Linked DNA regions of Homo sapiens: region 1 is linked to region 2. Evidence: promoter capture Hi-C in human tissues and cell types (Jung and others, 2019). All regions are on one chromosome and are shown on one strand. Each heading gives the region's core, a stretch centred on a gene start or on the middle of the fragment in contact. The rest is flanking DNA. Distances are from core to core; before and after follow the strand shown. Region 1 overlaps DPF3 (double PHD fingers 3). Region 2 holds the start of DPF3 (double PHD fingers 3).

Region 1 (7,120 bases), core at 4,346-6,845, 260 kb after region 2:
GCTATCATTTATTTTTAATGCATTTTTGTTTGTTTGGTATTTGTCCTTTCCATTCTCTTTCTCTTCTTTGTCCTCTTTGAAGTGCAATAAAAATGGTGAGAGAAAAAGGGAGCCATTCAGATGCCTCTGGAGTGCCATTGTGATCATCGATTTGCAGGTGTCTTCAGCATTAGAAGTAACATCTGGGGGCAGATAGAGGTGAACCTGCAGACCTTTGCAGAAGGTTTACAAAGCAGGGCTTGAGAAATAATTATGTGAAGCAGCAGTGCCCAGTTATCATACTTGCCATAGTATATACATAAAGGAGTTGAACTTTTGATTGCTCAGAATTGGTCCATCCCTTTCCCCTTTACAGATTCAATATAATGACTGAGCCTCCTTCTCTCCACCTGCCAAGCTGGGTCTCAAAGTGGAGGAGCATGAAGAGAGGGGGAGGGAATGGGGCAGAGAGAGAGACAGAAGAGGGAGAGAAGAGAAAGAGAGAAGAGAGGAGTGAGAGAATGAAAATGAATGGATCTGATTGAATGAGATGGCTTCCCAAAGAGAACTAGTAATAATTTTTCTTCTCAAATTACCCTGTAGCATGATGATTCAGATATGACTATACTTTGCATAAATGCTTTAGCTAAAACTTCATATATACATTTGCAATTTGTAAATACCAGGAATTTTATATGTGTATGAGAATATAGAGAACTATTTGAAATTTGAGCCAAATTATTTTCTAATGAATGCCCATGGAGACTTGTTTTTGGCGCTATTTTGGGTTGGAATTGATTCTATGTATTTTATGTAATACAATTTCTGTAAACCAAGCATCAGAATAAGGAGCACAATTTGAGTTTTGCATTTACTTGCCTGAGAACCATGGATATTTAAGTTCTCTTTGCCTGAGAAATTAGCTTTTAAGAGATCAACATTGATAAATAAGGTAATAAAGTATAATTAGATGTTTATAATTTCACAATGAATAAATAATAGACCATGCTGATTCCAAAGTTATTTATATTTGTTTTATTTATGTTTTCAATGCATACCTAGGAAGATAATTTTTTTTCCTGGAGCCCTAATTCAATCAGTGATGTGGCTTAGCCTAGTCCAAATTAAATACCGGTGATAATAAAATAAAAACTCTTTTAATAAGGATCATAATGTAAGAGACACATGTCATAGCAGTTTGTGTATTTCTTTTGCCCAGGGTTTGTTGAAAATGAACTGTGTTTCTCTCAATGTACTGAATATCTATAGAGGAGGTTGACTAGTAAGTGACTTAGGTTAGCTTTTAAGTTGCAATCATAATGTCAGCTTAATCCACAAGGTATATTTAGATATTTTCTCCCCTAAAAGGCTGGAAATACCCTTGTGTTGGGGCAGTTGTGTATTAGCGTGCATAGAAATTGGCAGCTGTGAATATGAAACTAACACTAGTTTTGCCTGGATATTTATCTGTGTGCCTTCTCACTCAAATACCACAAATCCCATTTGCTGTCCCTTGAACATTTTCAGCATCTGTGCACATGTTTCTGTAAAGACATGAGATGTGTCCTTCCAGTGCCAAGGCTGCTGTCACTGCTCTCAGATGCCTGCCTTTCCTTTTTTACTGAGCTCAGTAGGCTGTAGTGTCAGAAACACCGGGTACTCCCAGCCTCATGGATTATCATCTGTCTGAGAAGTTTCCCATAACCCATTGGTTTCCCTTTCCCTCCATCTGCTGAAATAGCACCCTGAAGCCAAATGCTGATCTCCCAAAAGCCCACTCCAGCAGTTAGATCTCCCATACATAGTGGCCATGGGTGACATACCCAGTGTCAACCTCTAGGGAGGATTGAGGTCAGTTCTGGAAGGGTTAGGGCTGAATCAGGAATGGCTCTTCACACCAAGTTCACCACTGACCCAGCTCAATAAGCTAGCAGGAGATTTACTGAATGCTCCTGATAGAATACATTTAGAGGAACATCCGGGAAGGACTAGGTTTTTAATGATCCGGCTGGGCTGAATCATGCACAGTGCACCATTTTCTAAATTCATTTTGGTAATTGGAATCTTATAAATGCTCTGTTGAATCATGGCACCCAGGGGGGCCTGGGAAGGGTTGTCTTCCCTCCACTATAGTAGGCTATTTAAATAGCAATATGGGTATTTCTTGCTCTAAAGAAAACTGGGGCTATGAAAAAATCTAGATTTCCAAGCAAGTATTAGGTTGGTGCAAAAGTAATTGCAGTACTTGCCATTAATGGCAACAACTGCAATTACTTTTGCACCAGCCTAATACCCTAGAGAATGAGGGTTAACTTTACAAAAGAGATTAAGATAGGGATCCTCAAATATCAAGTGACCATAAGTATTACAAATTACCTTATAGCCATGTGCCTCTTTTTTTCTTTCACCTTTGAATTGGAAAGACCGTATTTGTTATTCTCTTACTTTCAAAGCATTTAGGAATTAGTTCTGGGCAAAAGTAAGACCAGTGAACCTTAGAAACAAGCTGCTATTACTTTCCTTAGACACTTCTTTTTGTCTAACAGTGTGTATTATTGAAGTAATTTTTGTGGCAGGTAAGAAGTCTCATTCTTGCAGTTTTGTCTGGCAAATGATTTCTGCAGTTTTTGGAGAAAGGCGCAGGAGCAAATCTGTTATGGTGGTCCAGACAGGAGGATTTAGTTCTGGGCACAGTTTTTGCACCTGCTGATGACTTAAACTTTTTGTGTCTCACCCTCCCTGGCTGAGAAGTTACAATAGTATTTCCCTCCCCTACTTTCTTCTTGCGCTTGAGTGATGTCCTGAGTGTGGAGGAGAAGGAGTTCCTGCAGCCACTGCTAAGGCCCATCTTAGTCCTGCATTTTGTCGGGGGCTTGAGGCTGTGTGAACTTAGCTCCCTTGCTTCGGGTTTGAAGATCTTCAGGAGGCTGATGACTTTCTCAAGATGGGAACACAGAGAAAGCCATGAGATTGTTTCAGAAACTTCCAACAGGCATTTCCAAAACCCACTTGCTACCATCCATTGTCCAAAGCTATCCCAGAAAATGTCTTCATAGCTCAGCACAGGAGTCTTAGAGAACTAAGACACAGAGCTGGCTCTCGATAAATATTGGTGGAGTGTTGCTACATGCATGCAGCACACGCCACCCCCGGCCCCTCCTCACAGAGACAGCTCAGATGCACATTTGGCTGCTGAGTTCTGTCATGCTCTGGAATGTGCTGACTTTCCTTCCTTGGGAAGATGGCATGACTGAAGCGTGTTATTATTAGTAGGGTAGCTTTTGCCCTGATCTGTCAACATTCCCTCACTCGGGGTCTTTATTGAGCAAGGACAAACTAGAGAACCTGTGGCAGTAAACACAGTTGACCACCTTCTCCTTCTTGAAACCTCTTCTTTTGGTTACTGTGACCCCATACTCACCCGATTTGCTTCTTACCTCTTGCCATGTTTCTCTCTTTCCTTTGCTGGTTCTTTCTTTTGATCTTGGAGGACTTGAGCTCCTCCAAGCTCAGTCCTAGACCCTTTTCTCTATTCTCCTTTCTTCTCTCCTCTTCCTTTCTTTCCCTAGATACTTCCTCATTCCCTTTTCCCTAGATAATTTCATTAATTCTCATGGTTTCACTTATCACCTATTTAGCAAAAACTTCTGAATTTCGACCCATACATTCAACTATCCACTCAACATTTCCACCAGAATTCTCAGTTTCAGCATGCTCAACACAGAAGGAATCCTCTTCCTCTATGTGGTCCCTGCAATCCTTCTACAGTCTTTCTCATCTAAGTTTCACTGTAATCTACAATCTACCTAGTTTCATGGGTCAGAACTTGGGATTATTTCTCATCATTTTCCCATATTCCCAACATTCAAACAATAGTCAAGTCCTGTCAAGTATTTCTTTAACATTTCTCAAATTTCCACCTTAGTTGAATCATTCTTGTATCTCTCCTGGTAGCTGCATTAGCCTCCTAACTAGCTTCCTGGCAACAATTCTTACATTCCTGTACCCTCCCACCCCTCAACAATTCTTTCCTTAGCGTACAGCCCCTTCATCCTTCCTTCCTCCCTTCCCCTCCCCTTCTCTTGTCCTTCCCCCTCCCCTCTCCCTTTCCCCTCCCCTTCCCCTCCCTTCCCCTCCTCTTCCTCTCTCCTTCCCATCCCCTTCCCCTCTTCTCTCCCCTTCCCCTCCCTCCATCCTTCCCTCCTTCCCTTCTTTCCCTTCCTTCCCTTCCTTCCCTTCTGTCCCTTTCATCTCTTCCCTTCTCCTTCCTTCCTTCTTTCCTTCCCTCCCTCCTTCCCTCCCTTCCTCCTGCTTCTTTCCTTCCTTCCTTCCTTTCTTCCTTCCCTCCTTCCTCTCTCTCTCCTTTTTCTTATCTGCCTTCCACCTTCCTTTCTTTTTGATGATTTAATTTTTTATTTGTTTTCCTTATTTAAAAATATATTTTCAACTATTTATTTTGACATAATTATAGCTTCATAGGAAGTTACAAAATATATTACAAAAAGTCCTTGAGCTCGTCACTCAGTTTTCTCCAAGGGCAACATCTTATGTAATTATAGCACAATATCAAAACCAGGCAATTGATATTAATGCAATCATAGACTTTATTCAGATGTGACTAGTTTTACATGTACAAATACATATGTGTATGTGTATGTACAGTTCTATGCAATCTTATCACATATGTAACCACCACAATCAAGATACAGAACCACTTCATCCCAATAGCACTCATGCTAAAGAGTGCTCCTTTAAAAACAAAATGTGACCCACTTACTGCCTTGCTTAATAGCCTTTAATGACTTAAAAAACAGATTCTTAAATAAGGGCTGCAAATGCCTGTAATCCTTCTCCAGCTACCTCTGCAGCTACCTCTTACCCCTTTCCTTTTGCTCATCAAGCCTCTGCTCACTGGCCTTTCTCTTCCTTGTAATTTGCTAAGCTGCTTCACTGCTCAAAGCCTCCACCCATGCTGTTCCCCTTACTTGGAATCCTCCTCTTCCCACCTAGCTAACGTCTCATCTGACACATATCAGCTTAAAGATCTTTCTCAGGGAAGGTTTCCTTGTCATCTCAGTCTAGGTTAGGTTCTTCTATGTGTTTTTACGGCCAATTATGCTTTTCCTTCATGGCACTAATTATACAATTGTAGTTGATAGATACATGTGTAGCTGATTAATCTGAGGCCTCTTTGGCTAGGCTGGAAGGGCTCAAGGTATCTTGCTCATCCCCACTGTGTCTTTTCTGTCTAGCACAATGGCCTGCCTTGTAGGTGCTCAATAAGTACTTCGTAAGTTAATGAATAGTTATCCTAAGCTGGCTGGGTGTGGCTGGGGTGTGGCACAGAACTGGCCAAAGTCAACTTGCCTATATGAGCATCAGCTCCATGACCTCATGTTCATGCTCTCAGTGGTGCCTGGTCAGAGAAACTGGGCATCTGTGGTCATACCACATGGAGTCCCAAACAGATATTTCCTACCCTGTACCCATCCCAGTGTTCTCTCTGAGAGACTGGAATAGGGAGTAACCCTGGCTAATGTTCTTCTTAGACCAATCTTTGAGATGCTTTCAAGAATATCAGCTGGCTGTTCACACAGGCTTTTAATGTAAGGCTTCTTTTTCTTTGGGGCCACTGTGATGGTATCACCTTGAGAGGGTTATTAGTTCAGAGCTGCGGAAGTCTCTAAGTTGGATGGTACCTGAGAAGTCCTTGAAAAGCTTTTAGATCAGGCCTCTCCTTGCTGCTTCTGCCTGTATTCACTGAGTGTCCCCTCCCCACCACCAACAAGTCATTTCTACACCCCTCGCCCTCTCCAAGATAACTCAGCATGGTTTCTATTTGTGGAGCTCAAAATGTGAAGGATCCTTATGTTGGCTGAATAGACAGTATTTCATCCAAATGGTCATGATGTGAACAGCTCTCTGAAGATTTGAAAGGGAGGAAATGGGGGCTCCTGTTAAGATGTGGCTTTGCCAAGGGGTGGTGGCGCCATGGGGGATCCTGTCTGTGGAGGATACTAGGTTGGCGGTGCTAACCATGATTGGTGTCCCCTGTCTCTAGCATCCTTCTTTAAAGCATATAATCCTTCAAATGAAAGAGGCAACACAAGGCACCATATAATGGGTTTGGCAGAACTGGAAGCTCTGGAGAACGGTGAGTGCTCGGCACTGGGCAAAGCTGTCAATGTTTTTTGTGACAGAGTCAGTAATTGGCTTTGCCCTGGGTGTTCTGGGCAGATTCTGATCTGTTTCACAGTACTGGGCGACTTGGGAATGTCATCCAAGTTATCCTTCCATGCCACATAGAAGGCCAAGGGTCTTTGCATTCTACAGTTCATGGCCGTCCTCTCCCTGCAAGCATCTCTCTTTTAGGTGACCTAGGTCTGAGGACAGAGTCCAGTTCCACAGGCCAAGTCTTGGGCATGGCTCACGGGGGCTGTGCTTGAAGGTCACAGCTTAATGTCCCTTCTCTCATCTTGTGATTGGGTTGGCTCCCATGAAACTTGGGATGGAGAAAAGAGTTAGAACCGGGAACCAGTCCTTTTAGGATAGACCTGGCCATTTGCTCTGATGCTCCATTTCTTTGCCATCCCTGCCAGGCCACTTCCTTCTGTAGTCCGTGGTACTGTTCAGGATATGAACTTTTGCTAGTCTCATGAGTGTGGGCATGGATACTTTAGGTAACAGTGCAATGCCTCATCCTATCCCTGAGCACTGACCCTGGAAACCTCATACAATCCTTCTGATAGCCTCCCTTGCACCCTAAGGCAGTGTGAATAACTGGTTGGATCAGAAGGCCCAGCTCCAAATAGTTCTTACCTGTTGTGCTGCCATAGCTGATGCTGGGGCTTGGAGGGTCCCACTGGTGTCTCTCATAGTGCTGCCCCAGGCTGTGTACTCTGCAGTTTCCTCTCTCGTTCTCTCTGATCATTGTTTTCCATCTTCATCAACTGGTTACACCTGCTGGGGAATATGGTCTCAGTGCAAGCAGAATTGGATGTGCTTATATCTCTGTTTTGCCCTTGATCTGAATAACTGGGTGGTGAAGAATGTGGGTAGGGCCCTGTTTGGGTCCCCATTTTTTTCCCTACGTCATGCTACCCTGCCCTGCCTGCACACTGGGCATCAATGTGTTTCCAGT
Region 2 (7,630 bases), core at 2,737-5,236:
TTGGTTGTGCCCAGTGTTCCTTCAAACGGATGGCATTCAACAAATACTTGAGCTGGGCCAGGGAGTTTCACTCACTGACATCAAGGGTGAGTTAATATGGTTGAGAATGGTCCCCACACTTCTTTCCCTGGTGACACACACTTCTTATATGTTTTTATTGTACAGTGCAAAAAGGCAGATCTCTTCATTTTATTGTACAGTGCAACACTGTACAATAAAAATACAATGCCATCCACATGTACAATTTAAAATTTCCTAGTGGCCACATTAAAAAAAAGTAAAAAGAAATAGGTGAAATTAGTCTTCATAACATATTTTCTTTAATCCAGTAAATCCAAAATATCATTTCAACAAATGATCAATGTAAAAATTATAATGAGATATTTTACCTTCTATTTGTCCTAAGTCTTTGAAATCAGGTGCATTGTTTTATACTTACAGCGCATCTCAATTGGGAGTAGCCACATTTCAAGTGCTCAGTAGTCACCTGTGGCCCATGGCTCCTATATTGGACAGTGAAGCTCAACATTCTCCAGGTGAGATGTGGAGGTGATTATTCTGGGGCCACTCTGCTCTCCAAATTAAGCTGCCTAACTAGCTAAATCAAGATAAAAGGGATAGAATACAATGAAGTGTATTCAAATATATGAATAGCTATGGAGCTTTAGAAATGGGATTTTAGGCTATGGGTGCGGTAGTTCATGCCTGTGATCCCAGAACTTTTGGAGGCTGAGGTGGGAGGATCATATGAGTCCAGGAGTTTGAGATCAGTCTGGGCAACATAGTGTTACCTGGTCTCTACAAAAAATTAAAAAATGAACTGAGTATGGTGGTTTGTCCTGTGGTCTCAGCTACTTGGGAGGTTGAAGTGGGAGGATCACTTGACCCCAAGAGTTTGAGGCTGCAGTGAGTTATGTTGAGCTGTGTTTGCACCACTGCACTCCAGCCTGAGCAACAGAGCAAGACCCTGTCTGAAAACAATAACAACAACGACAAAAAACTCCAGGGCTTTGGGAGGCTGAGATGGGTGGATCACCTGAATTCAGAAGTTCGAGACCAGCCTGGCCAGCCTGGCCAACGTGGTGAAACCCTGTCTCTACTAAAAATACAAAAAATTAGCTGGACGTGGTGGTGGGCACCTGTAATCCCAGCTACTCGGGAGGCTGAGGCAGGAGAATCGCTTGAACCCGGGAGGTGGAGGTTGCAGTGAGCTGAGATCACACCACTGCACTCCAGCCTGGGCAACAAGAGTGAAACTCCGTCTCAGAAAAAAAAAAAAAATTTAAAAAGTGTTTTGGTATCACAATCAGCAAGAAGCCTTTTTTAGGGTTATATAGTTATGTGACCCCTCATTGAAACATCATTCTTATTTATTATTTTATTCTAATCCAAGTTGTCCATTTGCTCATTTTTCTTGGATTAATGAGTTTAGAAAACTAAATGTGATGGCTAATTTCACTTTCTGTTGTGCCTTGTTTTTTGGATTCCCTACATTCCATATGCCGTAAGGAAAGAATTAATTATCTCTGTAAGAAATAATAACATGGATTGAAAGCTTGCTGTGTGTCAGACACTTGACATGTATTACCTCATTTAATCCTGGCAAGTAAATATGCCCAAGGTAACCCAGCTGGTAAATAGTGGACTCAGGCTGGTAGATTCCAGAGCTCATACTTCTGCCATGTACAGCACTATGAAATTGCCCCAGAACTGCCAAACTTCTCCAAAACTGTTTAAGGATACTGTCCTCTTTAAACATGCCTACTCTTTGCTTTTGAACCTTCTGGTTAAAAAAAAAAAAAAAAAGAAATCTTTATATTTTGATCTATAATGTAAACATTAAAGTAAAATAACTCTTTTGTTAAATATAAGTGTTTCTTTAAAAGTCATAACTGTATTGATAGAGTTAAAATGACATTCCATTGGGTTACAAAAAGCAAGGCTATCCTTTTTTTTTTTTTAAAGTACTGTCTTTAATTCACTATTTTCCAATCCAATCAATAAATCTGATCTGACATTTTCAAGTTCGTTAGGTAGTTAGAGATTATGCTGGTTTCTGCATCCAGGCCTTAACACAATAAATGATATGTACATGCTTAGAGTATGTGTTTTCTTTAATATGTAATATACATTTGTTTTTTCTCTCTTCCCCCATTGTAAATCTTGTTCAGGACATGCTCTACATTTCCTCCTTTATCAGGCTGCATGTAAGAAAATACGTTGTCGTCTACTAATCTGAATTGTTGTGTCTTTGATACCTCAAAGAGGTTATTGGGAGTTCTAACTGATAATTCAAACTCATACTTCTTGGGTCAGAATACAGTTCTTGCTTTTCAATGATGTCAAGGCCCACCTCAGGCAAAGTATAGGCTTCTGAACCAATTTCTTGTCAAATTAGTAAAGAAGGGATTTTTCAAACTTCAATTTTGGAAAAGGAGATAACTTTTTCAAACTGTAATCTCTGCCAAGATGCTATGCAAAGGATTTACAAAGGAATCTATAGAACTCAATTCTGCTTCTTAAATACGCAGAGAGGAGTTAAAGATTTCAAATCTTTTAAAAACATAGTGATTCAGCCACGTTCTGTTTATCTGTAAATCTAATAGTGTATGTAGTTGAACTCTTAAAATTCTGGAATGTTTATTTTATTTTATTCATTGTCTTGAGAGGAGCAAAAGGAAGCGAGAGGGCATAGCTTTGAAGAACTGGCAATTTGGCAACTTCTCTCCCCTTGCCACCCCTCCCCCACTATCTTAGCTATTTGATCTGATTAAACAGCTTTGGAATGGTAGCCAGACTTCTGTATGCTAACGAGGCCCCTACCCTATTCGCGATTTAATGCGATTTCATCCCCCCAGAGCTTCCCGGTGCCCAGTGGAAGCCTGACTTCGCAGAAGTCTCCCAATTTTGTCAGGGGCTCGCCAGTGAAGAGTTCACACTGACTTGAAGCAGACACAGACTCATTGGACGCCTCGGGTCACATCGGATTATTCATTAGCAAATTCTTTCCACCTTCTATCTAAGTAGTGAAAGGTGACGCCAGAATCGCGTGTGCCACTCCTCTAAAGGGACCCTGATAACACCCAGTCCAGGCTCTACAACTTCTGCCTAGTCACTTGCTTCCTAGCAGTAGAAAGTTTCCAAAGGTTGCCTTAAGTCCTCCCTACCCCTAAGCCTAAAGATCAGAGCTCCAGGTCCCACCACCTAGCAGGAATCTGAGCATTTTGGAAGTTTCTGGTGTAGAGGGAAGAACCGAAGGGGTGGTAGCGGGGAACCGCGCAGAGTAACCCCCCTGCACTACGTAAGGAAAGCCCTGGCTGCAGGAGGGAGCGAGCCTGACATTGAGACGTTCCAGGGGGAGGGTGAGTTGCTGTCCTGGAGTCGCCAGGAACAGCAGCGACAGTTCCAAGAAGCGAGAGAGGAAGGTGGCCGAGATAAAGAGAACACTTCGGGAATAAGAATATTAAAAAGCGGCAGGACCCAGAGCATTAGCAAACGGCAGAGCACATGTAGTAATTTGTTAACACGAAACGGCAGCCTTCCAACTTTTGCACTGAAACACGGGGATTTACCCTTTGGGGGATTAAAAATGTTGATACGCAAAGCCAAAGGCTAATGAATAGGATTCAGTGGCTTGCTGGCAATATTTAAATATTTCTGTCCGGGAGCGCAAACTCTTCTGCAGTTATTTAGAAAAGTAGGGAGTTAAACCAAACTATAATACTCTCCCGTGCGTCTCCACTTTCCCCAGCCCGAAAAGGAGCTACCAGCGCTGTACTGCCCCTTTAAGACCTGCTGGCTCTCGGGCTCTACAAAAGGGAGTGACCTCTGGGCTTTGACAGCTCTCCTAATAACTACCACGGCGCAGGCCCCGCCCACCTAGCTACCAGCAGCGCCGATTGGCCGGCGGGCCGGTATCCCGCGCTGTGATTGGCCCGTCGCTTCCCCTGAGCGAACCTTTAGAACTCTGAGACAATATTCTGTTACATTGTAGCAAAATGGCGACTGTCATTCACAACCCCCTGAAAGCGTAAGTAAGACTAAAAAATGTACATATTCCGCGTGGTTTCAATATGAAAAAAAAGGCGCCTTCTGCGTGGCGAGCGCTGCCAGAGCATTGCGCTTGCAGGCGCCTCCAGCCGCGGCGGGGCTTCTCTCTTCTTTCAGCTCTTACTTCTTCATCTTCTTTTTTTCCCCCAACGCGCAGAAATGTCAGGAGATGCAATTAACAAGAAGAAAATTGTTACATTTGTGTTCTGCTAAATTGCAGAGAGAGCCAGATATAGGGGTTGCAGGCGGAGAAGCCCGGCGCTCGAGCGCTCTACAGCAGGAGGGTCGCGGGAGCTCGGGGACGGCGCGGTCCCCGGAGTCCCCCGCCTCGCGGGCAGGGAGCGCGGCTTCGGGGGCTGCTGGGCGGGGGGCGAGCGTCGGGCAGTGGCCGCCTCGGTGTACTTGGCCGAGCCCCGCGCCCCCGAGCCCGCGGCCCCCGCCCCGCCGCTGGGTCCGCTGGGTCCAGCGGACGGACCGCGGAGGCTCCGGAGTTTGCAGGGCGCTCTTCGCCTTCCGATCGCTCGCGGGGAGTTTGTGCAAACCTTCCGGAGTTGGAGCACCGCGGGGGAAGCAGCGGGTCCCGGGCGTGCTGGGGCCCAGGTGGTCGCCCCGGGCTTTCCCCGGCAGCCCCCGGATCTCGGAGGCGCTCCGGGCGATCGAGCGTGTGTCTGCTCGTGTATTTGCGAGCGAGCTGGCTTTAGTGGATTAACGACTCGGGTTAACTTGGGGTGGATTTGGAGGCAGGGAAGCCGCAGGTCTTATGAATGGTGTTCTCGCCACCTCTGGGTGAGGCGCTGAGGCAGGCGGAGAGGCGGTTTTGGGGCTCCTGGCCCGAGGGGGCAGCGTCTGCTCCCGGCCGGGCGAGGGGCAGGTGCCTCTGGCCGCCTCGGGGAGACTTTGAGCGCTTGCCCAGATCCTGGACAGAGTGGGGCGGGCCGGGCGAGGACTCGCGGGGGCCAGCCCCGGGTCCAACAGCCAATTTCTGCCTGCCTGCCTTCCTCCTCCTTTTCATCCTTCCTTCCTTCCTTCCTTCCTTCCTTCCTTCCTTCCTTCCTTCCTTCCTTCCTTCCTTCCTTCCTTCCTTCCTTCCTTCCAGTCAGTGGAACTGTTAAGCCGCCAAGTCCGCTCGCGATCGCGGAGCCAGGGGTGGCCTCGGAAAACTAGTGTCGCTCTGAAAGGGGTGCTATTGGGTGATGTCGGCAGAGGGTGGCTCCCTCCGTATCCGAGGTGGGCTGGGGGGTCCTCACCCCTTCGACCGGGACTTCCCCGCCCGGACGAAGCCGCAGGCGAAGTGGCAGAGGGAGGTGCAGGTCGGGTGGGGGGCGGTTCATGCCGAATTCTCCCTGGTGCGTGGCCGCTGTCGACCCTGGTTCTTTTAATTCAGCGCATTCTCGTCTTCACCCCTGGCCACTCCTGGAGTTGAAAACCAGGTTCGCTCCCGGGGACGGTAGGGGGTTCCTAACGCAAAGGAATGCACAGGGAGAATCGGACGTGTTTGCGCCAGCTCGTCGCCCATCAGAAATAGGGAAAGGGGTAGGAAGGCCCCAGGTTTCAAATATATTTATATGAAAGCTGCCGTTAAGAGGACGTTGGAAGCTGAGGCTGATCAGATAGGAGCTCCTGGCTTCAGTTCTGGCTCGGAAGCTCGGATACACTGCGCTTGAACGCCACAGCGTTTCACCCAAGAAAGAAAATGTTTTATGGCAGAATAAATGGGCGTAACTTCGCCGCATCCTCGCTGCCGGTTGCTTTCGCTGCAACACCGCTGATGCTGTTTCTACCGAACCCACAACTGATTTTCAGTTTCCCCATTTCCAGCCGAAATCACATAACCGGGCTGATGCCACCTGGTAAACTCAAGTTAGAGAACCTATTTCACATGTGCACCAGGTTTGTTTCCTCCTGGGAAAGCCGTACCCTAGTTACCCGGGAGCCCGCTTTCGCGCGGGCGGGCGCAGTATCTCTAAGCTTGTGTTCCCCTACTCGCTCCAGGGTTTTTTGGATCACAGTAGGGTGCGTGTTTGGGGAGGGAGTCTGTGTAGGGTGGGGTTAAGGGTGGGGGAAGGGACAGACGCGGGAAAGAAGGTGGCGGAATTCTGGCCGGTTAGTGGAATTAGTTCTGAATTGTACTTTGTATAATTAGAAACAGTTGCAACGTGATGTATTTGTAATTGTGTTGCCACCCACATGCAGACACTAGCATACACACAACGCCCCTGCTTGCTTTTTCTAGGTGGGAGTTGCTTGGTCATTTATAATTAGCTATTCCTTTCTGCTTCCCAGACCCTTTCCCTGTGAGTAAAGGGGTATAAACAATACCACTGACCAGCCCAGCCTCTCACACCCTGGACAGTTTTTGACAACTCCTAACGCAGGAGCACACACGTTGTTATTGGGAGAGGGACACCATCTGCCTTTATTTTTTTAAAAATAACTTGTTTAATAAAACATCTTATATATTTCATTTGTTTTTAAAAGTTGCTGATCAGGAAACAATACACACGTGAATAAATTATGCATGGGATAAATTAGAACAAAGTGCAGAGACACATCCAGCCGAAGGGATGGTGGTGGTGCAGGGAGGAGGGGTAGCGGGGAGAATGGTTTGGAGAGCTATGTTTTTATCCTCATGTGTCCCTCCTGACAATGAAACAGAGCTGAACGACATTAGCATTTTCTCTGTGTGCGTTCTGAGTCTCTCTCTTCCCTCCAAAAAAAAAAAAGCCAACACCACGGACGTCTCCTACAGAAAATGGTCACACAAAGGTTTCCTCAGGATGGGGGGATAAAGTGGTGGTAGTTAATGTGTTGGGAAGAAACAAGCTCAGATTTCCAGCAGCACCTATGCAGGGCTCTGCCTACGCTGAGTATGGGCTATTTTTCACTGTACTAGCTTTTTCCACGTGGGACATTCAATAATTCAATTAGCTGGGGTGATGGGATGGCACAATTTTGAATCTCATTGCTTTGGGGTTTTCCTTAGGGTCCCAAGCTCCTGAAGCCACATCTCCTCTCTTAGCAATTTGGCTTTCTTCCTGCCTGTCTTTGATCTCCCCTCAACTCCCTTTCTTTTTCTTCCTTGTTGTACCCTTCACCCCCTTCCTCTCTGAAGCTGACAGCCCAGCTTCTCTCTCTGTTGTCGCCTTTAACATCTTATTACTGCCCAACAGGGTGTTAGAGGCAGAAATAGGAGCCGCCTGCACTGATCAGATCACAAAGGGGACACGGCAGGTGGCCCCCACAACCAAGCAGTCACATCTGGACAAATAGAATTCAAAAGCACTGGTGGACATGTATGATGTGTAAATGTGTATTACATATTATTTAATTTAGCAGCTACATTGTCTGAGCAAAGATGTATGAGAGTTACCCTCATTTCTTACATATACAAGCGAGATAAGGCCCAGGTAGTGAAGTAAACACATGCAGGTAACATAAATATGGATTTGATAAAGGCCTGCATGTAGATTAGTCACGTTCTGGTTGATTTGTGCATACCTGGGAAACATAATGCTATTATTATTATTATTATTATCATTATTTTTTGAGACAGGGTGTTGCTCTGTTGCCCAGGCTGGAG

What was found. The method cuts DNA at HindIII sites, captures the fragments that hold promoters and counts their contacts. A contact is called where the count stands out against the background at its distance.
Region 1: a fragment that was not itself captured here is called in contact with the fragment with the promoter of DPF3 in region 2 in 2 of the 25 tissues and cell types used here (dorsolateral prefrontal cortex and lymphoblastoid cells).

What each region holds. Positions count from the first base shown.
Region 1 is chr14:72,629,802-72,636,921 of GRCh38, reverse strand. All of the region lies in intron 8 of DPF3 (double PHD fingers 3), which reads left to right. It also overlaps a transcript of RGS6 not described here. Among named protein-coding and RNA genes, the nearest start is that of MIR7843, 120 kb to the right of the region's middle. The HindIII fragment of the contact is 9,871 bases long and covers 660-7,120 here.
Region 2 is chr14:72,890,457-72,898,086 of GRCh38, reverse strand. DPF3 (double PHD fingers 3) reads left to right here and starts at 3,986. Exons shown (of 11, transcript NM_001280542.3): 1 at 3,986-4,030. The coding sequence starts at 3,999. It overlaps LOC107984711 (a long non-coding RNA gene), which reads left to right. Exons shown (of 3, transcript XR_001750998.1): 3 at 442-716. RefSeq lists an enhancer at 3,732-4,026. The HindIII fragment of the contact is 9,541 bases long and covers 1-7,630 here.